Regions from separate parts of the Homo sapiens genome. Here region 1 is linked to region 2. Evidence: promoter capture Hi-C in 16 types of primary human blood cells and fetal thymus (Javierre and others, 2016). All regions are on one chromosome and are shown on one strand. The core of a region is centred on a gene start or on the middle of the fragment in contact, and the rest is flanking DNA. Distances in the headings are between cores, read along the strand shown.

The links. Contacts are between HindIII fragments. The CHiCAGO score rates a contact against its expected background, and 5 or more counts as called.
Region 1: a contact is called between a fragment that was not itself captured here and the fragment with the promoter of H3C12 in region 2, in 1 of 17 cell types (fetal thymus). The highest score is 7.4, in fetal thymus.

Annotation. Positions count from the first base shown.
Region 1 is chr6:26,550,307-26,554,549 of GRCh38, forward strand. TRA-CGC1-1 (tRNA-Ala (anticodon CGC) 1-1) reads left to right here and starts at 3,197; the gene lies at 3,197-3,268. TRI-AAT5-1 (tRNA-Ile (anticodon AAT) 5-1) reads left to right here and starts at 3,816; the gene lies at 3,816-3,889. RefSeq lists enhancers at 44-578, 563-612, a cis regulatory region at 2,880-4,090 and silencers at 3,153-3,202, 3,793-3,882. The HindIII fragment of the contact is 612 bases long and covers 1,629-2,240 here.
Region 2 is chr6:27,888,117-27,892,474 of GRCh38, forward strand. H3C12 (H3 clustered histone 12) reads right to left here and starts at 2,710. Exons shown (of 1, transcript NM_003535.3): 1 at 2,199-2,710. The coding sequence starts at 2,676. The coding sequence ends at 2,266. RefSeq lists enhancers at 1,012-1,656, 1,657-2,301, 1,943-2,242, 2,302-2,946, 2,463-2,682 and 2 more. The HindIII fragment of the contact is 2,915 bases long and covers 2,226-4,358 here.

The DNA.
Region 1 (4,243 bases), core at 685-3,184, 1.3 Mb before region 2:
AAAAGTCCCGGCCTCGTTTTCCTAGCCCTCACTCAAAATGGAGTCGCTCTGGTTCGAATGCCTCTCACAGAAATCCCGCTAAAATGTACCTCCCTCGGTTGCGGTGAGCCGTGATCGTGCCACTGCACTCCAGCCTGGGAGATAGAGTGAGAACTCCGTCTCAAAAAAAAAAAAAAAAAATACCTCCTTCTTCTCTCAAAACTCTCCAATGGCTTCCACCCTGGGTCATCAACATGGCCTGGAAGAGCCGTACTCTGGATACCCGAGGGCGCGGCCCCAGCGCCGCGACGCCCCGCCCCTCTGGCTGCTCCGCTCTGGGATGCACTTCCGACGCCCTCTAGGCTTGGGAGTTCCGCGCCTCTCGGTGTCGCCTGGGGGGCGTGCTCCGGTTGGCGCACTGATTCCCAGTTGGGTAGGGGAGGCTTGACTGAGCTCCCACCCGGAATTTCACCTTAGACCTTTAAAGACCTTGCTCCGGCCTCCCGCGCCAGCGCTAACACCTAGTCCTCTTTAGTGGAGTTCCGGCGGAAGGGGATGGCGGGCACCCGACGGTGGTCTCCTCCCAGATGGCGAATTTCCGCGGCTTCTTCATCTTTTAGCTCCCAGGGAGCCCTCTGGCCCCAGCATGAAGCCCATGGAGCCCTTTTCAAAATTGTATTTTTAAAAGCTTTTAAAAAATACACAGGATTTTAAAGAAAGCCAATTGTACTACAAAACAGTTTTCAAACGATTAAAATAATTTCATAGAGTAATGTGTGCTTCTCATTAATGCATTAAATATTAAACATCAAGACCCGTCTTATGACTGCTGTAATTTTCAAACAGTTGTCTTGGGTATTTGTAACAACTGTATTGTGATACAAAAATATGTGATTTTTCTTTTCTTTTTTTTTAGACAGAGTCTCCCTCTGTCGCCTAGGCTGGAGTGCAGTGGCGTGGTCTCTGCTCACTGCAAGCTCCGCCTCCCGGGTTCACGCCATTCTCCTGCCTCAGCCTCCCGAGTAGCTGGGACTACAGGTGCCCGCCACCAATTTTGTTTTTGTATTTTTAGTAGAGACGGGGTTTCACCGTATTAGCCAGGATGGTCTTGATCTCCTGACCTGGTGATCCGCCCGCCTCGGCCTCCCAAAGTGCTGGAATTACAGGCATGAGCCACCACCCCCGGCCAAAAATATGTGATTTTTCTTGATGACAGAGTCGTAGTTACTTCTCTTTCAATTGTGGTTTGTTACCTGTATTAGTAAGTGAAAGATATGTTAAATTTCAGTTAGAATAGACTAGAATCAGAAATAATCAGAATGCAGTGTGTGTGTTAAGAGTAAGGAATAGTTCATGCAACTTTTGTTTCTGTTACATATGTATGACTGAATTACGATGTAAACTAAACTAAATTGTAGGTCACCACCAAAAAAATGAAAGCTACTGCCACTAGGCCCAAGTTCTGGGTGAAGAACCACGTCTGTTTACCTGGGCAACCCCATGGATCAGGAAAGCAGGGGATCAGAAAGGAGCACGCTAATAGAGAAAAGAGGGAGCCTGTGCATTTTTGTTGCTTTTCAAGAAAGAGTTTAACCTTTAACAACTTGTAGCCATTGTTATTGCAACTTTTACTCCTATTGCAGATGAAAAGCTTTGTGCGCTGTGGCTCCCTTTCCAAAAGGCCCATCTATTTTCTAAACAGCTCCTAGGTTATGAGACCTATGGTCAGCTCAAGAGTCCTTCATTTATTCGGGGATATCAGCCCGTGACTTGACCTTAACCTTCCTCTCTCTAACTGCAGTAACCTCTCCCGCCTTGTCCATAGTTTCCCTTCCGCTGTCTCAGTTACCCCCTTCAACCGTGGTCCAAAAATATTAAATGAAAATTCCAGAAATAAAAAATTCATAAGTTTCAAATAACTCCCCTTTCTCAGTAGCGTCATGAAATCTCCCACCCGCCCGAGGATCATCCCTTTGTCCAGACTATCCACGCGGTATGCGCTCCCCACATCTTAGTCACTTAGTATTCATCCTGGTTATCAGATCGAAAAAACATAGTATACTATGGTACTATCCGAGGTTTCAGGCATTCACTGTGTGTCTTGGAACATATCTCCTGCTGATAAGGAAAGAATACTGTACGTATTGGGTTAAAAATGAAGAAATGGAAATAAAAAAGGAGAAATACAGCGACACCTGAACAGGGACTTGAAACCTGGTTCCTCAGATTAAAAGTCCATGGCCATACTGACTGAGCTACCAAGCTTCATACAAAATGTCCAAACTGCATCAACCCTGGTTTATTAATCTATGTATCTGACCTAGAAGGTGATTTTAGAAGGTTCAGCTGCGATTTTAATAAGGACCTGGTAATTTAGAAATTCTTGCTAATAACAGCACAGAAGCTCAGCCATAACGAGGGTCCGTTTTAAGACCGAGGTCTAACCATATTACAAATCCATACTAACATCCCCCCAAAATTCTATCTATCTATCTATCTATCTATCTATCTATCTATCTATCATCTATCTATCTATCTACCCACCTACCCATCTACCTATCTTTCTACACGCATATATATGTATTCATATAATCCAGTCCAGTCAAGGACTAACAGAATGCTCGCCTTCAGTTCCTAGGCTTCCCAGATAAATATCTCAAATCCTCTCTCTAAACTTGGGCCCAAACAAAACATTTTCAAAAGTAACCTGATCTGACGCTGGTGCACATAAAGGGGAGTAATTGAATCACCTTTTCGGCGACGGACTTAGGGAAGCTGTTGTGAGACGAAAGATAGAGAAAACTGATTTAGCAGTTCTTGGTTTCACCTGCCTTGGTTTTCCTTAAAAAAGGAAAAATAAATTAAAGAAGTTTGTGAAGAAGCGTCCTCACTCTCCTTTTTCTTGTCAGATTTCCAGGTAGTTGTCAATAGTTCTATCCCTGGGTCAGTAGGTTAAGTATTTGACAAGCATGTCTGATGGCTGGAAGGTTTTCCACACTTTGAAAACTGATGGATGCTGCCCCATTAACCATTTCAGGATTTTGTTCGACAAATAAAAGAGAATTTAGTTTCAGCAGTCCGCAAATCTTAGAATTTTGGGGACAGAGATGGGGACGGGGACAGATATGGGAGGACGGAGACGGCGGGGCGGTGGGGTGGTAGCAGAAATCTTTCACAAACAACTAGGGAGAGCTACAAAGAACGGTTTCTTAGGGTAGGGGATGTAGCTCAGTGGTAGAGCGCATGCTTCGCATGTATGAGGTCCCGGGTTCGATCCCCGGCATCTCCAAGTTGTTTTATCCTATCTGCCCAATACTATTAGAAACTATATTTCAAAATGTGAAATAATTGTGTTTTGTATCCTCCACTTCTTTAACTTTTTATGGCTTTCTTTTAGCCACTGTATGTAGAATTGTATATGGAGCACGGGGAACAAGATTGCTTTGAAGTATTTTGAACTATCTATGTGAAACAAATGGAATTGAGAACACAGAAAAACATGCCCAATGGGGAGATGACAGAAGAGGAGCAACCTGGAAAGTTGCCCGGAACCCATTAATGAGCCCTATTTGTGGTATATGGTTTGCCTTTAGGGCAGAAATAATCTTGGCTTGAGAACATGGAAAGGGGAGGGAAGACGGGCTATTGTTAGTCCTGTGAGTCATAGGATGATAAAAATAGGACAAATATCGAAAGAAGGATGAATCTCAGCTCAGCACGGGCGAATTTGGCTGCTCTAGTGCACCGGTCTCCCGTAGGGGAATAACAAAAATGAAAACATTCCGAAACACTGATGAAATTCTTGATGCAGTTTTTAAAACTTCTTGGAGACAGGTGGCCGGTTAGCTCAGTTGGTTAGAGCGTGGTGCTAATAACGCCAAGGTCGCGGGTTCGATCCCCGTACGGGCCAACTTTGTTTTCTTCCATCACGTAACTTACGGCCAAAGACAAGGAAAAATCAATTGTCTGAGGACTGTTACTACAAGAAAGACTGTGCTAACCTTTATAACTAACACTTTGCCAGAAGTCCAAACCTTTGTAGCAAGTCCAGAGGTCCTGTTTTCTTAAGTCATGGTGCTCAAAATGTTTGCTCATGAGAAGCAGAAAAGCAGTAGGATAGTTTAGGAGTTAGATTTAAATTCAATAGAGGGCAAAACAGTGCCACCAATTTGTTTAGTGCCCCAACACTGTCCTTGAAATAGTCTGAAAACAGATAAATCTTCAGATAATGAAATGTGGGGCAAGTGTGAGAAGGCAGTGTTCA
Region 2 (4,358 bases), core at 1,460-3,959:
GAAAAAGTACAGAGGTTTATTGCAAAGTGAAAAATACATGCTCAAGGAAGGGAAGTGCAGGCTTACTCAAGAGAGTCAGTCTTGCCCAGGAGTGATTGGGGCTTCTAACTTTATGGGTTTCCTTAACCAAGGGGTGGAATATCCATGAAGATTTCTGGAAAAGGGTGACAATTTCTCAGAACTGTGGTGCCATCCATTTTTCCATGAAATATGGGTGTTCTCGGAACTGTCATGGTGTTGGTGGATGTCTGATTTGTATGTTAATAAGTGTATAATAAGGTCCCAGGTGAAAGCTAGGTCAAATCCAGTGCCATGTTGGGTCAAGTAGGACTTAGCCAGCTTGGCAAACATTTCGGTTTTCAGGGTCTCTTTGGCTCCTAGTTTGTGCAGCTATTTCAACAGTTTCCTTTTTGCTAGTCATGTGAAACTACTGCATGGAATCTTCTATTCTCTTGTGACCACCCTATATTATTTCTCTCTCAGAAGGGCCAAATAATTGACGTTTTTATGCCATTCTGAGACTACAGAAAGAAAAAAGGTCTTGAGACTTCTGGGGGTTTGGAGGAGGTGGTGACACATGTTGTAGGAGGGTGAAGGAGGAAGGGCAAAGGCACCAGGGGAGGAAAGGCAAAGGTTTTCTTGTTATGTAGATAAAGTCTCTCAGGTAATCGCAGAATAGCTGACAGCCTGTGACAAAGTAGTTTTCTCTCCTTTGAGTCAGTCTTAGATTCCTCTTTAGGCAGGAAAGGGAGCCTCAGAGAAAGCCAGTACTTGCATCCACTGTTTACTAATGTAGATTTCCTTGATAGGTATACAATTCTTTTACAAAAAAGAGCTTTTCAGAGCTATTCCTATTTCTGCAGTTTCTCTGAATAGCCATCTTGAAATATGACAAAGTATACTTCGGGGTGGCATATTTTAGTCTCCCACAAGAGCCACTCCAAACTAAGATTCAGAGATAAAATCAGGTTCAATAAATATTTTTTGTGTACCTAATGTGTTTTCTGGGGCACTGTCCAAGGCCCTAGAATATATTACTGCATTTAACCTTTAAAGCAGTCTCTTGAGGAAAGTAAAGTGAAGGAAATAAAAATATTTTACCCCAAAAGATATTTCTTTGCCCTATTTTGAAATGGCTGCCTCAGGGCCCGGAGACCGATGAGGCCCTGCAAATCAGTCTTTTGTGGGGGAAATTTCCATTTGTTGCCAGGCTTTCCCTTTCTAGTCCTTTCCTGGATCTAGGAGAGATTAACTGAGAGTCTGATCCTTTTTTATTTTTATTTTTTAAGAGACTGTCTTGCTCTGTCACCCAGGCTGGAGTGCAATTGTGCAATCATAGTTCACTGCATCCTTGAACTCGTGGGCTCAGGCAATCTTCCTGCCTCAGCCTTCTGAGCAGCTAGAACTACAGTTGTGCGCTGCAACACCCACCTTTCTTTTTATTTGTTTTTCGTAGAGACAGGATTTTGCTGTTACCCAGGCTGATCTCAAACTCCTGGGCTCAGGGAATCCTCCTTCCACTGCCTCCCAAAGTGGAGGGCATGAGCCACCACGCCCACCCTGACAAGAGACATTTACCATCTATTTTTTCTGAGGACTACTAGCTATGTGTTTTCATCTACATAACAAGACCCGCCCCCCTTGCTAGCCAAGTCTCTTCCTTTCTCCCTCCTATAATCTGTTTTCCCAGGTTCCAAGCTTGCACTCTTTCTATAATCTCAAGGTGATATATAAACTTCTGTATCTCATTGGTGGGTGGGTCCTCATTTTGAAGTCTCCCGTGTCTATGTGCTAAATCAACCGGCCTCATGTCCGTGATTTTCAGCAAGCTTCCAGGGGACCCAAGGGCAGTGCCCGTTTCAGTTAAAAATGGCATCTCATTTAACCTGTAATCTAATTGTTAGTTATGGGGTTCTGGAGATGCTATCCCCAAAGGACAGCATGTGCAGGAAGGACTTTGGCTTTCCCCTTGAAGCGGATTGACCTTGGATATAGATTTGCTGACTTTCCTCGGAGAAAGTGAGACCCTTGTGAGATGGGTCACAGAGGACAAGTGAAAAGGACCGTCTTAGAAGACAAAGGACACTGCAAGGAATCAGAATGAACAACCCTTGACGACTTTCCGCCAGTTTATCCCTGCTTTAAAGTTGATTTAAGACAGTCGACCAATGGTGTGACAGCTATCCTCAGTGAGAATGTAAGTGGCTCTGAAAAGAGCCTTTGGAAGCTTGGAAGCAATTAAGAAACCCAAGATAGAGCAGGGGATTATGCTCGCTCGCCACGGATACGACGCGCAAGCTGGATGTCCTTAGGCATAATAGTGACACGCTTGGCGTGAATAGCACAGAGGTTGGTGTCTTCAAAGAGACCCACCAGATAGGCCTCGCACGCCTCTTGCAGCGCCATCACCGCCGAGCTCTGGAAACGAAGGTCGGTTTTGAAATCCTGCGCGATTTCTCGCACCAGGCGCTGAAATGGCAGTTTGCGGATGAGCAGCTCAGTCGACTTCTGATAACGGCGGATCTCACGCAAGGCCACGGTGCCTGGCCTGTAGCGGTGGGGCTTCTTCACACCGCCAGTCGCTGGAGCGCTTTTGCGCGCTGCCTTGGTGGCCAGCTGCTTCCGCGGTGCCTTGCCGCCGGTAGACTTGCGAGCTGTCTGCTTCGTCCGGGCCATAGTTGAGAAAGCTATGCTCTGAAAGCAAGCAGCTGAATGAGCAGTGGCTTCTACCAGAATTTATAACGATGATCTGATCCTGATTGGTCAGAACTGTTGTAGGAAAAACCTGGTTGGTTGTTAATACTATCTTCATTTGGTTCCTGCCACTTTTTTTTTTTTTTTTTTTTTTTTACCTGACGGCTTCTAATTCTGTCGCCTAGGCTGGAGTGTGGTGGCGCGATCTCAGCTCACTGCAACCTCCGCCTCCCGGGTTCAAGCGATTCTGCCTCAGCCTCCGGAGTAGCTGGGACTACAGGCACTTGCCACGACGCCCGGCTAATTTTTTTTTAGCAGAGAAGGGGTTTCACCATGTTGGCCAGGCTGGTCTCAAACTCCTGATCTCAAGTTATCCGCCTGCCTCGGACTTCCAAAGTGCTTAGATTACAGGCGTGAGCCACTGCGCTCGTCCTCCGCGCCACTTTTATTTATTGTTTTCAACCAATCATGTTAAGATTCCCCCAATGAAAAGATAATCTGACCTAGAATTTGTGTAGGTCAGTCGTAGTCTTAAACTCATTTCCAATGGGTCATTTTTCCTATTTCGGATCGTGTAAAAATACATACAGTAGAACAACGTATTTGCTAGTATTTCCAAAAAGTAGTTCCGTTTTGTAACTGCTTAATTAAATCTTTTAATGACTGTACCAAGACCCAGAACAAAAACAATTTAAACTTAGGCTGGCACATTCTCTAAAACACCAAAACTTTAGTTTTGTCCAGTGTGGTGTGGGGAAGGAGTTTGATAGGTGCTTGACTAAATGATACCAATAAATGGTATCTGACCTCTTCATTAACTGAGTTTAATGCAATCCAATGGCTGATTGGATTAATTATGTAAATTATTGCTTAATTTCATTAGCATGCGCGGAATTACAGGTTTGGGTCAGTGATTAGATTTTTGCCAGTGAATCTGGGTAGTTCTGACAACAGCATTTTATTAGGATGGAGATTTTAGTTGATCAAAGAACTACCAGGTTCTGGTATTGATAAAGACCCATAAAGACAACAAAAAGGTTAGTTTAACATTTATTATATTCACAGGAGCAAATGATCACCAGAAATACTTTTGTTTGGGTTTTGTTTTTCTTTTTTTGAGACGGGGTCTCGCTTTGTCACCCAGGCTGGAGTGCAGTGGCGAGGTCATGGCTCACTGAAATCTCAAATTCCTGGGACTCAAGTGTTCCTTCTGCTGTCAGTCCGCCAAATACAGGCGAGGGCCTCGCGCCTGGTATTTTTTTTCTTTCTTTTTTTTAGATGGAGTCTCGCTCTGTCGCCCAGGCTGGAGTGCAGTGGCGTGATCTCGGCTCACTGCAACCTCTGCCTCCTGGGTTCAAGCGATTCTCCTGCCTGTCTCCTTAGTAGCGCTCGCCACCACGCCCGGCTAATTTTTGTGTTTTTAGTAGGGACAGGGTTTCACCATGTTTGCCTGGGTGGTCTCGATCTCTTGACCTTGTGATACACCCTCCTCGGCCTCCCAAAGTGCTGGGATTACAGGCGTGAGCCACCGCGCCCAGTCATTTTTTTTTTAAGAGGCAGGGGTCTCGTTATCAGGGTGGTCTCGAACTCCAGGTCCCTAGAGATTTCTCCCCTCCCCACCCACCTGCCTCAGTTTCCCAAAATGCTAAGGACGCATAAACCAC